Regions from separate parts of the Homo sapiens genome. Here all the other regions are linked to region 1. The links are contacts of gene promoters, found by promoter capture Hi-C in human tissues and cell types (Jung and others, 2019). All regions are on one chromosome and are shown on one strand. The core of a region is centred on a gene start or on the middle of the fragment in contact, and the rest is flanking DNA. Distances in the headings are between cores, read along the strand shown.

What was found. Contacts are between HindIII fragments. The study calls those that stand out against the background at their distance.
Region 2: a contact is called between the fragment with the promoter of DNM1 here and the fragment with the promoter of LRRC8A in region 1, in 1 of the 25 tissues and cell types used here (dorsolateral prefrontal cortex).
Region 3: a contact is called between the fragment with the promoter of SLC27A4 here and the fragment with the promoter of LRRC8A in region 1, in 1 of the 25 tissues and cell types used here (heart left ventricle).

The regions. Positions count from the first base shown.
Region 1 is chr9:128,880,677-128,883,927 of GRCh38, reverse strand. It overlaps LRRC8A (leucine rich repeat containing 8 VRAC subunit A), which reads right to left and starts at 1,795. Exons shown (of 4, transcript NM_019594.4): 1 at 1,678-1,795. KYAT1-SPOUT1 (KYAT1-SPOUT1 readthrough) reads left to right here and starts at 1,978. Exons shown (of 25, transcript NR_182311.1): 1 at 1,978-2,031. It overlaps KYAT1 (kynurenine aminotransferase 1), which reads left to right and starts at 1,978. Exons shown (of 13, transcript NM_004059.5): 1 at 1,978-2,031. RefSeq lists a silencer at 1,449-1,728 and an enhancer at 1,759-1,908. The HindIII fragment of the contact is 17,929 bases long and covers 1-3,251 here.
Region 2 is chr9:128,201,610-128,204,860 of GRCh38, reverse strand. It overlaps DNM1 (dynamin 1), which reads right to left and starts at 1,482. Exons shown (of 22, transcript NM_004408.4): 1 at 1,230-1,482. The coding sequence starts at 1,390. It also overlaps a transcript of CIZ1 not described here. RefSeq lists enhancers at 1-268, 1,700-1,799 and silencers at 557-851, 1,420-1,639. The HindIII fragment of the contact is 10,387 bases long and covers 1-1,569 here.
Region 3 is chr9:128,338,943-128,342,193 of GRCh38, reverse strand. It overlaps SLC27A4 (solute carrier family 27 member 4), which reads right to left and starts at 1,667. Exons shown (of 13, transcript NM_005094.4): 1 at 1,356-1,667. It overlaps TRR-TCT3-1 (tRNA-Arg (anticodon TCT) 3-1), which reads left to right and starts at 2,028; the gene lies at 2,028-2,118. It also overlaps the pseudogene TMSB4XP4. RefSeq lists an enhancer at 325-504 and silencers at 1,141-1,540, 1,611-2,020, 1,649-2,290. The HindIII fragment of the contact is 12,819 bases long and covers 15-3,251 here.

The sequences.
Region 1 (3,251 bases), core at 546-3,045:
ATCTTGGCTCACTGCAACCTCTGCCTGCTGGGTTCAAGCAATTCTCCTGCCTCAGCCTCCCGAATAGCTGGGATTACGGGTGCGCAGCCCCATGCCTGGCTAATTTTTTGTATTTTTAGTAGAGACAAGGTTTCACTATGTTGGCCAGGCTGGTCTCGAACTCCTGACCTCGTGATCTGCCCGCTTCAGCCTCCCAACGTGCTGGGATTACAGGCGTGAGCCACCACGCCCGGCCCTGCACCCCCTGCTCTGTACCCTATGGTCCCTAGAACGCAGAGGGCATCAGACCCCATGCCAAAGCCCTGAGACCAGGAAAACAAGGAAGCAGAGACCAGCCACCCAGTCACTCATCCCTGGCATGTCCACAACAGCCTCCTCCAGCACAGGTCATCTGTCCTTGCCTCACTTCATGAGCCAGAGGAAGACTTGACCTTCATGGAAGCAACACCAGTGAGACTGAGCAATCAGCACTGCCCAGTCTCTCTGAACAAACTCCCACTCCCACATCCCCTCCACAGGAAGTATCAGCAACAGCCGATCTCCTCCCGCTTCTTACAGCCTGTCTGTCTGCCAGGTTGTCTGCTCCAAAGGGCAGAATACAGTTTGGCAGGGGTTAAGAGTACTACTAACAGAAGAGGTGGAAGAGGTCCTTGGGAACTTCGGGCTCCCCCAGTTCCCTTCCTCTTACCAGGTGCTCTCCCTCCACACCTCATTCTCAAAAGGCTTCCTGAGGTAGGGCAGGGGAAGAGGAGTCAGTGGAAGTGTGGCTCACCCAGGAACCGCCCACCCTTCCAGCCAAGTCTCCATCAGGAGGCGGCTACCAGACAACCCCCGACCCATCCCTCCTTCCCAAAAAAGGCAACAATCGCAACAGCTGAGAACCGGCAGACCTCGGTTCACCCCGGTCCAGATCAAGGGGAAGAAGCAGTCAGCGAAAGCAGCAGAATCATCATGAACTCCATGACCCCAGCTATGCCCCTTCAGCCTGGGAGCTCAGTTTGCTGGGTATCCAGCTCACCTAGGGCTGCACCAGGCCTGGACCTCACTGGATCTCGCCTCGCCCTCGGGCCCACCTGAATGCACAGGACTGGGACAGGGTCTGGGTTCTTAGATTCCGGACCGGTCTTCCCAAATATCCCATCCCAGAAAGGCCCCAAGAGCCTAGCCGGGGATCCTGCCCCCAAGTCAGGGCACTGCCCCCATCGGAACGATAGGAAGGAGGGGTGCAAGGGAAGAGAAGGGGACCAGGAACTCAGGAGAAGACAGCTAAGGAAATCTTTGAAAAAGAAATGGCAAGGAGAGAGCCCAGAGGTGGAACCTCTAGGAACGGGAGAGTGTGTGTGGAGGGGTGAGGATCTGGGGGGACCCAGGGGATGACAAGGGGACATGGGGGAGCCGAGGCGGAAACTCCTGGTTTCTGAAGCACAAGGAGGCACAGGGGTGCCTGGGAGGGGGCTCGCGCGCCGCGGAGCCGGCGAGAAGGTGGTGCCCCGGAGACTCCGGGCACTGGGGAGCCCAGAGGTAGGCCGAACACCGCGGGAGGTCCCCAGGGGGCCGGCCCGGAGACAGAGCCCCAGATGCCCCGGGCGCCCCGGGCCGGGCAGCTGGCCGAGGGCGTGTGTAAGTGGGTTTCGAGAGGTGACAGCTCGCGCCCCTTTCCCCACCCCGTCCACTCACCTGGGCTCGCCGCGCCCGGCCGCCCGGCAGGCAGCCCCAGGCCCCGGCCGCTCCGTCCCGCCGCCGGCCGCAGCGCTGCTCCGGCGCCTCCTTTTGTTTGTCCCTCACTGCACCACTCAGCCTCCTCCGCCCCGGAAGTGACGTCACCGCCGGGCGCGAACGCGGCGGCCAGGGCGTCGCCATCTTTATGAGGAGAATTCTAGCGGCGCTTTCTCCCGCTCTCGCCTCCGCGCTAGCGCCCTGCTGCTTCGGGGCGGAAGTAGCGGAGCCGGGCTCGGCCCCCTTAAAGGGACAGGGACTGCTGCAACCTACGGGGTGTACTTGGGAACGAGGGGTGAAGCGGCCCAGGTGAGGGTGAGTAGCTGTGTCGGAGCGCCACTTCCCCAAGGTCAGGTGCCGAGGCTGGGAGGGTCGGCTAACGGTTCCGAGCTTGGTTGTGCTAGAGTGCTTAATGAGTTTGATGCTACTAAGTATAACGGAGTGGCTGCACAGAATGATTGAGCCGCCCGCGGGAATCAACTGCGCGTGCTGCTCGCTGATTCTCGCTCGGACACTGGGGCTGGTCCTGTCTGCACCCAAATCCCCCTCCCACGACCGCGCCGGTGGAGATGATACCCGAGACAACAGAATTCTGGACAGATCTGGGGTTGGAATTGGGTCCCCAGACTCCAACTCTGCAGCTCCATAAATCCCGCTGGGTCCTCGCAAATTCCCTGGCTGATAACAGTACCGGCAACCAAATTAAAAAATAATCCATACAGTGGAATACTGTGCAGCCATTAAGACGAACAATGTTTAATATGCACTAATGTAGGGTGACTTCTAAGATACCTTAGGTTAAAAAAGGAAACAACAGTAAAAACAGCGTTGGGCCGGTTGCGGTGGCTCACGTCTGTAATCCCAGCACTTTGGGAGGCCGAGGCGGGCGGATCACGAGGTCAGGAGATCGAGACCATCCTGGCTAACTTGGTGAAACCTCATCTCTACTAAAAATACAAAAAAATCAGCCGGGCGTGGTGGTGGGCGCCTGTAGTCCCAGCTACTCTGGAGGCTGAGGCAGGAGAATGGCATGAACTCGGGAGGTGGAGCTTGCAGTGAGCCGAGATCGCGCCGCTGCACTCCAGCCTGGGCGACAGAGCGAGACTCCGTCTAAAAAAAGAAAAAACAGCGTTGATGGGTGCTATCCATCTTTGCGTAGAAGGACGCCTGAGGGTGGGCGTATCTGCGGGTGTGCGCGCCAGCTGTCTGATAAGATGCACAAGAAGTTGTTAATTGCGGTTGTCTCCGACAGAATTGGGGTCTTGGGTACCTGGGCCAGGGCGAGAAATTTACTACCATGTGCACAGATAGATAATTAAAAATAAGATGATGAAGATAGTCGTGGCTCCCATCCATCACGTGTTAAGCCAATGCCTAGTTTCACTTCTGTTGGGAGGTCTTATTTTTCCCTTTTAATAGAAGAGAAAAGAACCTTAGAGAGGTTAGGAAACTTAGCAATATCATAGCCAGGGCCGGGCGCGGTGGTTCACACCTGTAATCCCAGCACTTTGGGAGGCTGAGGCGGGCGGATCACG
Region 2 (3,251 bases), core at 233-2,732, 680 kb after region 1:
CTGGCTTGGACAGAACTGCTGTACCTCTGCGGACAAGGGCCCCTGCCTCCCTCTCCCATGTGCCAGTCACTTTTTTGGCCCTGAAGGTCATTGGAAGAAAGCAAGAGTTTCTGAAGAAGATGGGGGGGAGATGAAAGACGGGGTCAGTGTAAACTCTCTCACTTCATCCCCCAGTCTGCCCAGCCCCCCAACCCACCTCCAGTACCTGGAGAGCTCCTATCTTTCTTCTCTCTCCTCAGCACCAGAAAAACTATTTCTGCCTCCCTTTGGGGGTTTGTGGGGAGCCTGCGGGTCACGACCCTGCCTGCCCCGCTAAACCCACGACCCTTTGTCTTTGCGGTTGTTCCTCTCTCCGCCACCTAGGCCTCTCAGCGCCTTGTGGGATCAGAGGCGGGAGGGGGATTAGGTTCTGCAAATGGCTCCCCCCTCCCGCCATCCCTGTCTTAGTCATCTCTGCCCTCTGCCGCCTCTCCCTCCAACACGATTCCTCTGGCCAGGCCAAGGGGAGGGCGACACTGACAGGCGCCCCCCACCCAGGGGCCGTGGCGAAGCAAGGGGCCGGCTGCTCAGAAAAGGATAAGAAGTGGTTTCTCCTCCCCTCTTCCCTTCCTCATCCTGCAGCCCGCGCCTCCCCCCTCGCCGCGCTGCGCACGGATGGCGGCGGGAGCCGCAGAGGTGTGTGTGTGCTGGCGGGAGGCCGTGCCCGGTCCTCGATGCCCGCGGGACTACGTCCTCTTCTAGGGACTGGGATGCGGGGGCTGACCTCTGCCACGGCCCAGGAATTCCCATGGGGGTAGGGGGATGTCCCCCATTGAGCCCGGTGTGGGGGACGCTGCCCCCGGGTGCTGCCCGCTCCAAGGGACTCCCGGAGCCCAACGGAGACGCTGAGTAATGCGGGCTCTCTCCATGCCCATGTTGGGGGCGGGGGGCAGCTCTTTGCCCGGGGCTTCTGGCAGAGCGTTGTCTGCCCTAAAGGATGGGACGGAGGAGGGGGCGTGATTCGGTAGCCGGAGGCTTGACGACGTTTGCAGACTAGCGGGGGGCGCTGCTGCCCCGAGGGGCTCTCGTGGTGGGGGGAGGGCCTCCTCGCTCCGGCTGGGGGTGGGGGGCGCGCCGGCCGCGGGTGCAGCGTCGGGGGCTGCGAGGTCGCCGCGCCGTCAGTGCCCCGGGCGGGGACTCCAGGGATCCCGGGGGTCGGGGGTCGGCGCCTGGGGGCGCGCCGCGCCTACCTGCCTACGAAATTCTCGAGCACCGAGCTCTTGCCGGCGCTCTGGCCGCCCACCACAGCGATCTGCGGCAGGTCGAGGTCCGCGTTCTGGCCGATGGCAGAGAAGGCGTCTTGCAGCCGGTTGACCAGCGGGATGAGATCTTCCATGCCGCGGTTGCCCATGGCTGCGGCGGGCCCCGCAGGCTGCGATCCGGCTGCCGCTAGCGCTCCCGGCTCCGACTCCGGCTCCGCCGCTGCAGCCGCGCGCCCAGACTGCCTGCGCCGCGGGGCCCCCGCCCCTCGGGGATCGGAGCGAGCACCGCTCCCGGACGCCGCTAGGGGGAGCCCGCGGCGCTGCGGGCCGGCCGCCGTGCGCAGGCGCCGTCCGGGGCATCATGGGTGTCGTAGTTTTCACCTTCTGCGGCTTTTGGGGTGCTTTAGCAGTGTCTGGGGTGCGCGGATGCTGCGCAGAATATATTTGTCAATGGGTTGGGTCTCACTCCTAGTACCAGGCCTCTTGGAGAGTGGTCTGGATGTTTCACTCCATCTTACCGATGAGGAAACAGGCCTGGAGAGCAGATGGGCTTCCTCTGAGGTCACAGCCTCCTGACCTCAGAGGTCAGAACTCCGAGATGAGTTCCCCTTCATCTCGCTGGCTTCTATCCCTAGATCCTGACTCTGATCTCCAACATGTCCTCTTCTGCCTTTGGTCCTCAGTTTCCTTGTTTCTAGAAGGAGAAAGTTGGAACATGAATTCAACAAATATTTACTAGGTACCTGCTAGAAGCCAGGCCCTGTCCTAGGCACTGAAGATTCAGCAACGAATAAGACAGCCAAGGCCTCTGCCCTCATAGATCTTGCATCAAGCTGGGGAGACAGACAGTAAATAAGTAAGCAGATAAATGAAATAGTAAAAATGAAAATAATTCATAGTAAGAGGGATGGAGGAAATAAACAGGGTGAAAAAAGGTATCTTTGTGGGTGTGGAAAGTTCACATTGGCTTGGCAGGAGTCGGGGGTGTTCTCTGCAGAAGTGACATTTGAGAAGAGACCAAAATGATGAGAAGGAGCCAGCAGCAAGCAGATCAGGGGAAGAGCATGCCAGGCTGAATGACCAGCAAGTGCAGAGGCCCTGACACCTGGAGGGCCCTTCTTGGGAGAGTTGGAAGCTCTTGTCCTAGAGAGTGGAAGTCTTTGCTCCAACCCATCAGGATGGTGGTAAAACAGCGTAAAACAGTGGGATTCAAATCCAGGGCTCCTACAATCCTACCCTGCGTACCCTTTCACACAGACAGACCATGGGGCCCTGAGCCCAGCCGTCCATCTCTGCATTTAAGAAACCTAATTAGTATTCACGGTGGAGGCTAGGAAGGGAAGGCTAGCCTACACTGTGCTCATGGGGAGTCGGTGAGTCATTTCCCTGCGCTGTGAACAGTGTGGGGGCACTGCTGACAAAGTGGTCTGTGAATTGGAGACTGTTCACTTACTCATCCATTTAATGCGTATTTGTTGAGCCAGGTACTATGCTAGACTCCAGAGATAAAGCAGTGAGCAAAACGGACAAAGTCCTTACCCACATGTGGCTGACAATTCAGTGGAAAAAGACAGACAATATGCAAATAGGGCAATAACGATGGCCCTGTTAGATGGCGTGCCCTGCAGAGCAAGAAAGCAGGGGCGGGGTAGGGTGGTGTTGCTATTGTGAAGATGGTGATCAGAGAGTGACCCTTGTGGGGAGGAATCTTCGAGGCAGGCATGGGGAACAAGCAGGCCCTCTCCCTGGTAGCACCAGAGAGTGGATTAGGAGTCTAATCTGGGCCTTAAACAAGCTGCGTGACCCAGGTCCCTCCACGTCTCTGAACCTCAGTTAACTAATCTGGATAATGGGGATAATAATAGATCAAATGCCTGTGTAGGGCACAGCCCAGGCCTAGTGCTCAGGGGGCCCTTATTAAGCTGCAGCTGTGAGGATGCCAATGATAACAGCTCACCAGACAGCTGGAGCATCAGTGCCACACAACTTGCATGGAACCTGGCAGCTGTT
Region 3 (3,251 bases), core at 418-2,917, 540 kb after region 1:
AGCGAAGTCTGGTCTGCGCAGTGGCCACCACCGAGTTGTCCTGAGACGTGTTCTAAGAGGCTTTTCTAGCCAAAACATGACAGTTCACTCTTCTGACATCCAGGGTCCCTAAAACCGGATGGCCTGGGGGTGGGTACTGACTTAAGAGCCTCTGGCTCGCTGGCAGTGGTGGCTCACACCTGTAATCCCAGCACTTTGGGAGGCCGAGGCAGGCGGATCATGACGTCAGGAGTTCGAGACCACCCTGACCAAGATGGTGAAACCCTGTCTCTACTAAAAATACAAAAATTAGCCAGGCATGGTGGCACACACCTGTAACCCCAGCTACTCAGGAGGCTGAGGCAGAAGAATTGCTTGAACCCGGGAGGCGGAGGTTCCATTGAGCCGAGATTGTGCCACTGCACTCCAGCCTGGGAGACAGAGCGAGACTCCGTCTCAAAAAAAGAAAAAAAAAGTCTCTGGCTCGACTCCCCACCCAGAACCCAGGGAGGTTCTGTGGATGACCAGGCCAAGTCAAAGGGGCAGCTCCCTGGAAAAGGAGCCCTGCTTGGTCCCTGCCCATAGACTCAGGTATCGCAGTGCGTCTGTTGGTCTATAGAGGGCGACCCAGAAAACGAGTTAGAGCCTGGAAGTGCTTGAAAGGTGACCGCCCAGGGGGCAAAGCTGATTGAGGGAGGCGAGGAGGACCTTGAAGACACCACCACCCATCACACAGACACACACAGCCACTCGGATGAATCTTTGGGGTCTAGGGCTTAGGGGAAGGCGAATGACTTGACTGTGCTTCAGGGGCTGGGTTGAGCTAGGACTCTTGGGTTCTATTCCTGGAGCTTTGAGGACTCGATCAAGGGGACATCTGATGGGACTGTTTTTCTCCGAGTTTTCCTGTTCTTGGGAGTAGATGAAGGTCACAAATGTGAAATGGCCTGAGAGCCTCCAAGCCAGGAAAAGGGAATGGTCTGGACCACAAGAAGCCCTGGGAGACCATCTCCCCCTCCCCCTCGCGAAAAGCAAAAGCCGGGGGCGGGGGAACTGAACCAGAGTCCTCAACCCCAACGCCAGGGTCCAGGGTCCTCAGATCTCTGGCCTCCCATAGCCCGCCATAGCAGAGGGGCAGGAACCTGTCCTGGAAGGCTGGGGCAAGAAGAGGCCAGAAGAGGGTGACTAGTTCCCTCGGGCCCCTGTCCCGGGTCACGCGTGCCGCCCTCGCCCCTAGACAGCAAGGTAACAGTGCGTCTGTCGGGGAAATAGCGCCGCAGGGCGCGCCCCCCACCTGGGGTCCGCACCGCCACCTCGCCCGACTCGGCCTGGCACATGTCCCCACCCGGGAACCCACCAGCCCGGTCTATGCTCACCCGGCGTCGGCTCCGCCGCGCGGCGCCCCGTCCAGATGCGGCCCGGTTGCAGCAGCGTAGACAGCGTGAGGGGCATTAGCCGCCCCTGGACGCACGGAGCCGGGTCTCAGCAGGGTTTAGCCGGCTCTGCGCCCTGCATGGCCCGGCCGCCCCGCCAGCCCCGCCCGCCGCCCGGCCCCGCCCGCCGCGCTCCTACCCCGCCCGCCTCCCGCACCCCAAACCTGCTGTGCCAGGCCGCAGCACCGCCTGCCGCACCTTCCCCGAAGCCGGCAAGCCACAGAGCCGGCGGCGCAGCGCAGCCCCAGCGCGCCTGACGCCGCTCGGCCCCAGCCCGCCCTGCTCGCGCAACGGCTTCGGGCGGCGCCGCCGCGCGGCACGCTGGGAGTTGTAGTCCACGCCGCGCGGCCCCACCCAGCCGAGGAGACCCCCGAGTCCGCGAGGAGACAGGCGGGCTTCACCCCGGCCCTTCCTCCCTGCCGACCCCGGCCCTTGCCCCCTGCTGTCCCCAGCGCCCGGATGTAGGAAGAGCACCCCAGTCCACACCACAGCCGAAAACCCGGAGCACGCTCTCGGGCCCCGGCCGAGTTCAGCAAACACCCAGCACCACACCTAGAAGCTCGCTAAGAGGGCGGTTTCAGGCAGAGGTGAGCGGGGCGGCCGGGTTCCGCAGCCGGCTCTGTGGCGCAATGGATAGCGCATTGGACTTCTAGCTGAGCCTAGTGTGGTCATTCAAAGGTTGTGGGTTCGAGTCCCACCAGAGTCGAATTTTGATGGCTCCTACTCCCTGACTTTCACCTGCGTGTTTTAAGGACTCCAGGACCTATCTAACAAATAAGGTTCAGAACGAAAATCATAAGTCACACCCAACTTTGCTGCGACACAGCCATAAACCTGGTGTCTAGGTGACTACGAGAAATCCTTTCTCGTACCATGGTGTCTTGTGAGCAGCCTGGCACACCTGTTGGCACAAAGGACACGGATTTGGAGGCCCTTAGTTAACTTCACCATCTATGATCTCTGGTCCCTGCAACAAATCAGTTAACCTATATTTGTCATGCCACCCTTATTTGTCATGCCACCTCCAGAGCCATAGGCGAGTGGCCAGATTCTCGGCCCTGTTGGGACTCTTGGCCTCTGAAAAATTGGTTTCTTGTTAAGTAACCATGTTGGGCATCCACAGTTGCCACTTGTCCTTAAACATTAATAGATCCCTGGGAGGCTGAGGCAGGAGAATTGCTTGAACCTGGGAGGCGGAAGTCGCAGTAAGCCGAGGTTGCGCCACTGCACTCCAGCCTGGGCGACAGAGCAAGTCTCCATCTCAAAAAAAAAAAAAAAAAAAAAAAAAAAAAAGATTCTGGGACTGGCGTGGTGGCTCAAGCTTGTAATCCCAGCACTTTTGGAGGCTGAGGCAGGAGGATCACTTCAGCCAGGAGTTCAAGACCAGCCTGGGCAACATAGTGAGACTCTGCCTCTACAGGAAAAAAAAAAAAATTAGCCAGGTAGCTCTTGCTTGTACTCCCAGCTACTCAGGAAGATGAGGTGGGAGGATTGCTTGAGCTCTGGAACTTGGGGCTGCAGTGAGCTGTGATTGCACCACTAAACTCCACCCTGGGCAACAAAGTAAGACCGTGTCTCAAAAAATAAAAATAAGCTGGGCACAGTGGCTCATGCCTGTAATCCCAGCACTTTGGGAGGTTGAGGTGGGCAGATCACATGACGTCAGGAGTTCGAGACCAGTCTGGCCAACAGGGCGAAACCCTGTCTCTATTAAAAATACAAAACTTAGCCGAGCGTGGTGGTGCACGTCTGTAATCCTAGCTACTCAGGAGCTGAGGCAAGAGAATCACTGAACCCGGGAGGCAAAGGTTGCAGTGAGCCGAGATTGGGCCACTGCAC